Regions from separate parts of the Homo sapiens genome. Here region 2 is linked to region 1. The links are contacts of gene promoters, found by promoter capture Hi-C in human tissues and cell types (Jung and others, 2019). All regions are on one chromosome and are shown on one strand. The core of a region is centred on a gene start or on the middle of the fragment in contact, and the rest is flanking DNA. Distances in the headings are between cores, read along the strand shown. Region 1 holds the start of UGT2B28 (UDP glucuronosyltransferase family 2 member B28). Region 2 has its middle 26 kb from the start of UGT2B11.

Region 1 (3,805 bases), core at 429-2,928:
TAAATTTGAGGTTTATCCCACATCTTTTACTCAGAAGGAACTTGATTTCATTTTTATGAAGTTGATCAAGATGTGGACATATAAGTTTCCAAAGAGTACATTGTTGACATATGATTCAAAGATGCAAAAACTACATATCATGAATGTTCTGATACTGTTCAAAAGCTCTGTGAGTATGCTGTTTTGAACAAGAAAATTATGAGGAACAACAAGATTCCAGAATTTATATCATTCTTGCAAATGTAAGTTCTCAGTAGTGAGCTGCTATCTGAACACCTTAATCTGTTAAACATTTGTTATACATTTGGTCTACAATCATCAATTTACAACTGGCAGTATGTACCAAGAACTCTGTGGAGGACTTACATTACCTCCTTCTGATGTAACTGTTGTCATATCAGAACTTAGTACCAATATACATTTGTAGAAAGGTGAAAAATCTGTTGCATTTTCTTCATTTTGACTTTGCATTTGAGATTTTTAACAGAAAGAAGTGGGATCAGTTGTACAGTGAAGTATTAGGTAAGTTAGTACTTAATTTATTCACTTTTCCCTCCAATATGTGGAAGGAAACCTTCCTTTTTGGGGTCTGTTAGAGTGTGTTTATAAATTGAAGTAAAAAATAACCTTTTTGGTTATGTGAAAGACAAGGGTGGGCAAGGTTGTGGAGACATTGAAACCCTCATACATTGTTGGTGAGAATAGAAAATTATTCACCCACTCTGAAAAAGTCTAGCAATTCCTCAAAAGATTACACTTACATTTACCACATAATTCAGTAATTGCCTTTCTAGGCATATCCCCAAGAAAAATAAAAACATGTCCACAGAAATCATGCACATCAATGTTAAACAATGCTATTCATAATGACCAAAAGTGGAAGTAAATCAGTATCCATCAACTATTAAATGAATAAATAAATTGTGTTTATAAATAGCATCTGATAACTATTTGGCAATAAAAATGAAGTCCTTATTTACACTATTCTATGGATGGTCCTTTAAAAACATTAAACTAAGTAAAGGAAGCCAGCCACAAAAGACCACATATTATATCGTTCCATTTACTTTTAGAAAGAGCCTGAATAGGTGTATTTCTAGAGGCAGAAATTAGATTACTGGTTGCCCAGTGCAGGGCGGGTGCAGAAATTTGGTGGGGAGATGAGAGCTAATACACAGGAGTTTTTTGTTTTTTTAGATAAAACTGATTGTTATGTTGGATGCACAAGTCTGTGAATTTACAAGGAAATACTTAATTTTAAATACTAATTGATGAATCATATGGTATTTGAATTATACTTCAACAAAGTTTTACAAGATATTCCTTGAACCACGATATTCAAAAACGCTATTTGCATTGTACGATCACTTCATCTCTTACTCTGTGTCAAGGGCCCTGCAGGACTCTCTCACTTGCCACTATTCTTGACACTATTATAAAATAGGTTACATAAAACAGGGTACTTGCAAGGTCATTAATCTTAGGTGGATGACAGCGAATATAAACATAAAAGAAACATCAAACATCCTTGAGTAAATATGAAGTAATCAAACTTTGTCTCCTTGTCATCCATGTACTCAGGATGCTCCTATAATATATTTACTTTGGATTGAAGGAGTTATGTTTTAACTTGATTGATTTATCTCTGTATATAAGTATGAGAAAGAAACAGTGACTTGAAAAGAATGATTGCATTGCACCAGGATGGCTCTGAAGTGGACTTCAGTTCTTCTGCTGATACATCTCGGTTGTTACTTTAGCTCTGGGAGTTGTGGAAAGGTGCTGGTGTGGACCGGTGAATACAGCCATTGGATGAATATGAAGACAATCCTGAAAGAGCTTGTTCAGAGAGGTCATGAGGTGACTGTACTGGCATCTTCAGCTTCCATTCTTTTTGATCCCAATGACGCATTCACTCTTAAACTCGAAGTTTATCCTACATCTTTAACTAAAACTGAATTTGAGAATATCATCATGCAACAGGTTAAGAGATGGTCAGACATTCAAAAAGATAGCTTTTGGTTATATTTTTCACAAGAACAAGAAATCCTGTGGGAATTTCATGACATATTTAGAAACTTCTGTAAAGATGTAGTTTCAAATAAGAAAGTTATGAAAAAACTACAAGAGTCAAGATTTGACATCATTTTTGCAGATGCTTTTTTTCCTTGTGGTGAGCTGCTGGCTGCGCTACTTAACATACCGTTTGTGTACAGTCTCTGCTTCACTCCTGGCTACACAATTGAAAGGCACAGTGGAGGACTGATTTTCCCTCCTTCCTACATACCTGTTGTTATGTCAAAATTAAGTGATCAAATGACTTTCATGGAGAGGGTAAAAAACATGATCTATGTGCTTTATTTTGACTTTTGGTTCCAAATGTGTGATATGAAGAAGTGGGATCAGTTTTACAGTGAAGTTTTAGGTAAGAATTTGTTTAATCGGGAACTTGAAGATCTAACTTATTTGTGTCTTTGAAGCAGAGCTTATATAAAGCCATAAAGTCAGGGAAGTGGAGTTTTTGGTAAGTGAATTTATGAAATGAAAATACAAGATGATCTATCAATCTCACAAACATTATAGAAAAGCTTAAATTATAAGGTCTGTTAAAACCCTGTGGCCATCACTCATACAGAACACCCCAGGAAATCATAAACCTATATATTAGTACACCTAAGACTTTAAGCAATTACACATCTGTTTTACTATATAATGTTTTAGATCTTAAAAACAGTGAAATCCATCAAGTAACATCTTACTGAATGCATAGATTTAGAATGAGTAATTACACATTTTTCTACAACTATCTATATAACTGCAGAAAGTTTTCCTTGTAAACCTCAGTTTTCTTTTTTAGGTATTAAAAGATATTCCCATGTTTCCAGAAGGTTTCCTTCACAGTAGAGAGAGATAATGTCCACATCTCAGATGCAAAAGTTAATCAGGGTAATTTGAAGTTTCTAATGTTTCTATACTCCTTCACTAAAGAATTGGAATTCATTCATTTAAAGTCCAATTATCTTGTTGAAGTGTGAAGGTTGTTATATCTATATAGTTTATTTGAAACTATGTCTCTTTATTTAAAAATATGAGACAGATTAAGGTTGAGTACAGATCTCTATTTCAATAATTTCTCAAAAATTTCTAGCTATAATTTACAAATATATTTACTTAAATGATAATATTATTAAGATCTTAGCTCAAATCCAAATGAGTAGTTGGTACAAGGATTTCTGCCATACTCTCAAAATAGTCCGAGTTCACTTGAAGAACCAAAGATAAAAGGATTAGCTTAAGGAGTTGTGTAAACTGGACTGTTAGAAAATTGGTTTTATGGGTACAGTAGAATTAATTGATTATGGAGCTCAAAGAGTTGTTTAAATATCTATATGCAACTATTGAAGCTTTAAAGAGAAAATAAATTGATGTTTAATTTTCTATGACTTATTTTAATAATTGTGAGTACACTGACTTGACATTAGAGATGTCGCTTAACTTCATAATTCTCCCACCACTTTGCCTTTCTTATAAATAAACATGGACAAAATATATAATACATAAAAATATATTATTCATATACATGAATATATGTATATATTTTTCAAAGCACACAAACTTTACCTACATCTTTGCCTACATAATTCTAACCCCTTTCAGAAAGTTATGTAAAGTAATTATCTTACATCATCCACTTTTTCTTTTCTTTATTCCTGTCAGGAAGACCCACTACCTTATTTGAGACAATGGGGAAAGCTGACATATGGCTTATGCGAAACTCCTGGAGTTTTCAATTTCCTCATCCATT
Region 2 (3,805 bases), core at 794-3,293, 39 kb before region 1:
CATAGATTTCTTTATTACAGCTAGCAGATATTTAAAAGTGCAGCACACTTCTCTGAATAAATTTTGCTTCTAAGAGAAGTTACTATTTATTCTTGATTAGATGGGGAGGAAAGTCTTTGAAAAGGAACTTCTAATTTACTTTTCACAGTGAAGCAGCCTAGGGTCACTGGAGCAGTCTTGTTGTATGAGGTATCACCAGGAGTTCTTTGTCTCAAGACCCAAACAATTAAGGATTGTGGACACCAATGGTAATGTTGGAAGAGAAGTTTAATAAGCAAAAGAGAAAAGCTATCTACTGTGAAGAGGAAGCCCGAGAGCGTTGTCATTTCACAGTTGAATGCAGACTTTTATATACAAAAATAAAAGCTAATGAGGCAGAGTGTTTCATGTGCATAAGTCATGAAAACCCGGTTAGGACTGGATGTCTTATTTGCATACATACAAATTCTTGTTAGCTCCAACTCTTCCCTCTAGTGTGCATGCAGGTCCTTAGCCTGAATTACTGCATGTTGTTTTATTTTGCTTATTGACTCTGTTTCACTGCGGATGTGTCTTGTTCTGTGTAACTTTCCTTATCTATACAGCTACAGGTCTGTCTTAGGAAAGCACCCTGTGCAAGTTCCTTTATCTGAGTATGACCAAAAAGAAAAGGAATGTGCTCACTGAAGGCCATCGTGTATAGGCAGAGCTCACTGGTTGCACAGAAGACAAAGGCTTTGGACTTTGCTTCCTTACCTGTGCTTGCAGTTTGATTTCCTCCAGACTTATTTTTGGACTTTGCTTCCTTACCTGCGCTTGCAGTTTGATTTCCTCCAGACTGTTATTTTTGGGGGAGGGCTTCTACCAAGAACCTTGCCCTAACTATCTGCCTAACTGGTTCCTTATTTTCTCTTCTCATTAATTTCTCTCTCCATATGTGTATCACCTCCATGAGGGCTCCAAACACTGAGTGATCAGCTCTTACATACATTTGCTAGATGAATTTTTTAAACTCATTGTGTTGGGGGGGTTCTCTGTTTGGCGACTCTGTATGGTGAAGGTTTAACACCCTAGACATTCCAAATAGGCCCCTTTGGCTTGGAGGAGCAAAACGTCCTTTCTCTTCATTGCTGAGGAGGTCAGTCTCTCATCTCTCACTGATCTACAAAAATAATAGTTCAGTTCCTCAAGCAAATGTGCAGACAAGCCATTTGAGCTTATCTTTGGGAGAAAAGGCAATGGAGAGGACCCTTTAGAATGTACTCCTGAACTATAATTAAGATTCTAAAAGACAACCTCCCAGGAGAAAAAAAAATTCAGAATAAACCAAAGACTATCAACCAAAGGGAGGTCCAGAGCTCAAGAGGACTTACCAGTCCCACTGGAGAAGAAGCTCAAAATTGGAGAGGCATTCAGTGGGCCTCTGTTGCTACCTTAGCTTCAAGTTCAGGCACGTTTTATGGTGTCCTGAGTTTTGTCTGAGGCCCCACATGTTCAAATGTCAAGTTGTTATGATGAAAAGAGTCAAACATTTTAAAATATTTAAAGAGTTTTATTCTGAGCCAAATATGAGTCAATGATGGCCTGCGACATAACCCTCAGGAGATCCTAAGAACATTTCCCCATAGCGCTCAGGCTACAGCTTAGTTTTATACAATTTACAGAGATATTAGTCATCAATCAATACATGTAAGTTATACATTGACTTGGTCTGAATAGGCAGGACAACTGAGAGCAGGGGTTTCCAGGTCATAGGCTAATTCGAGGATTTTCTATTGGCAATTGGTTGAGTTATATTGTTGTCTAAAGATATAGAATTAATAGACAAGAATGTCTAGGTTAAGATAAGGGGCTGTGAATACCAAGGTTTTATCATGCAGATAAAGCGGTCAGGCAACAGGCTTGAGAGAATATAGATTGTAAATGTTTCTTATCAAATGTAATGAGTCTGTTCTATTGTCTTTAAGGTCTTTAAGGTCTGTGTTGATGGTAGTGCTTGTAAGATTTTCCTGAATTCAAAAAGGGAGGAGGGTATAATGAGGCATGTCCTATCCCACCACCCCACTTCCCATCATTGTCTGAACCAGTTTTTCAGATTAAGTTTGAAATGCTCTTTGCTGAGAGTAAGGGTCCATTTAGGTGGTTGGGGATGCTTAAAATTTTATTTTTGGTTTACATCTACATAGAGTTGTTGAATAATTAGAACATAATGATAATATTTTACCTAATGTCATTATTAGCCTTCTGCTTATTAACACAGAAACCAAAACCGTGTATTTTCTCCTATACATTTTTTCCTGTCTCAGATATTATCAGTAAATACAAATTTCAAATTAATTTCTCACATTTACTATTAACAATTTATGTTTTATTCCATAAGGTTGACATGTCTCAGTAACTAATATACAATTTTTATCATTTTCCCTGTTTTTAAACTCTTATCTTTACATATCACTCTATGTTGAGATGCAAGAATTTCTTGCTAAAGAAAAGCTTGATCTTGCGACTGTCCTTTAAAACTTGAGTAAATAATAATTTGCCCATAAATTATCATTCAAACTAATAATTGTTTATTTAAAACTAATTTCTCCTATTTCAAACTGACTTTGTTCTGTAACATCCTGCCCTGAACTTTCTCTGTGGTCACTTCTCACTAGAATGACTTTTAAATATCCTATACTTTCGTCATGCTTCTATTGATTGTGAAATGCTTCCTTTGACAACAATAAATCCTAATGAAGCTTTCATCTCACCTCCTAAGTCAAATGTCTTACTAAAGCTTTTATTAATTATCAGATATTAAAGCAATTGTGCATTTTTCTCCTCTGAAATACTGAACACTTTGCACTTATTATATAAAATTAATAAAAATAGTTACCTATGTCTCCAAGTGTATTCCCAGTAATTCTTTGTATTGTCCTTGTGAGCAAAGGATGTGAAACATGAGTTCTTCTAAACAATCTGGCACCTTGGATTTAGTGTGGAATGAATGTAAGTGCGGTTGTGTGCATATGTTTCTGCACATGAATTATTAAATCTAAAGAATTTAAAAAAAATTTCTTTATCATCAATCCAGATAATAAAAGTATCTTTATGTGTTTTATTTCTAAGCTCTAGAAGGTTGGAACAAATTTTCCCTGATACATTGCAACATTGCATTTCTTTTTGATATCTTCAATAAATGTGAAGCTGGCAACCAACCAATGAAGTTTATTTACTCTTAAAATATTAATTTTTAACTTCTGTGCTTATATTGTCATTTCAATTTCATGCTTAGTAACTACAAAACTATTGCAGATCATTGTGTGAGGGAAATGTCATCATGAGGCCCAAGAAGTCAGCTTTGGTATTTCTGCTCCTGCAACTCTTCTGTGATGGCTGTGGATTCTGGGAGAAGGTCCTGGTGTGGCCCTGTGACATGAGCCATTGGCTTAATGTCAAGGTCATTCTAGAGGAGATCATAGTGAGGAGCCATGAGGTAACAGTATTGACTCACTCAAAGTCTTTGTTAATTGATTACAGGAAGCCTTCTGCACTGAAATTTGAGGTGGTCCATATGCCATAGGATAAAACAGAAGAAAATGAAATATTTGTTGACCTAGCTCTGAATGTCTTCCCAGGCTTACCAGCGTGGCAATCAGTCATAAAATTAAATGTTTTTTGTTGAAATGAGGAACTTCAAAAATGATGTGTGAGAGCATTATCTACAATCAGACACTTATGAAGAAGCTACAGGAAACCAACTACGATGTAGCACTCATAGACCCTGTGATTCCCCGTGGAGACCTGATGGCTGAGTTGCTTGCAGTCCCTTTTGTGCTCACAC

Evidence for each region. The method cuts DNA at HindIII sites, captures the fragments that hold promoters and counts their contacts. A contact is called where the count stands out against the background at its distance.
Region 2: a contact is called between a fragment that was not itself captured here and the fragment with the promoter of UGT2B28 in region 1, in 2 of the 25 tissues and cell types used here (heart left ventricle and mesenchymal stem cells).

Annotation. Positions count from the first base shown.
Region 1 is chr4:69,278,797-69,282,601 of GRCh38, forward strand. It overlaps UGT2B28 (UDP glucuronosyltransferase family 2 member B28), which reads left to right and starts at 1,679. Exons shown (of 6, transcript NM_053039.2): 1 at 1,679-2,425; 2 at 3,718-3,805. The coding sequence starts at 1,705. The HindIII fragment of the contact is 10,884 bases long and covers 1-2,996 here.
Region 2 is chr4:69,239,327-69,243,131 of GRCh38, forward strand. It overlaps the pseudogene LOC100533845. Among named protein-coding and RNA genes, the nearest start is that of UGT2B11, 26 kb to the left of the region's middle. The HindIII fragment of the contact is 4,183 bases long and covers 1-3,805 here.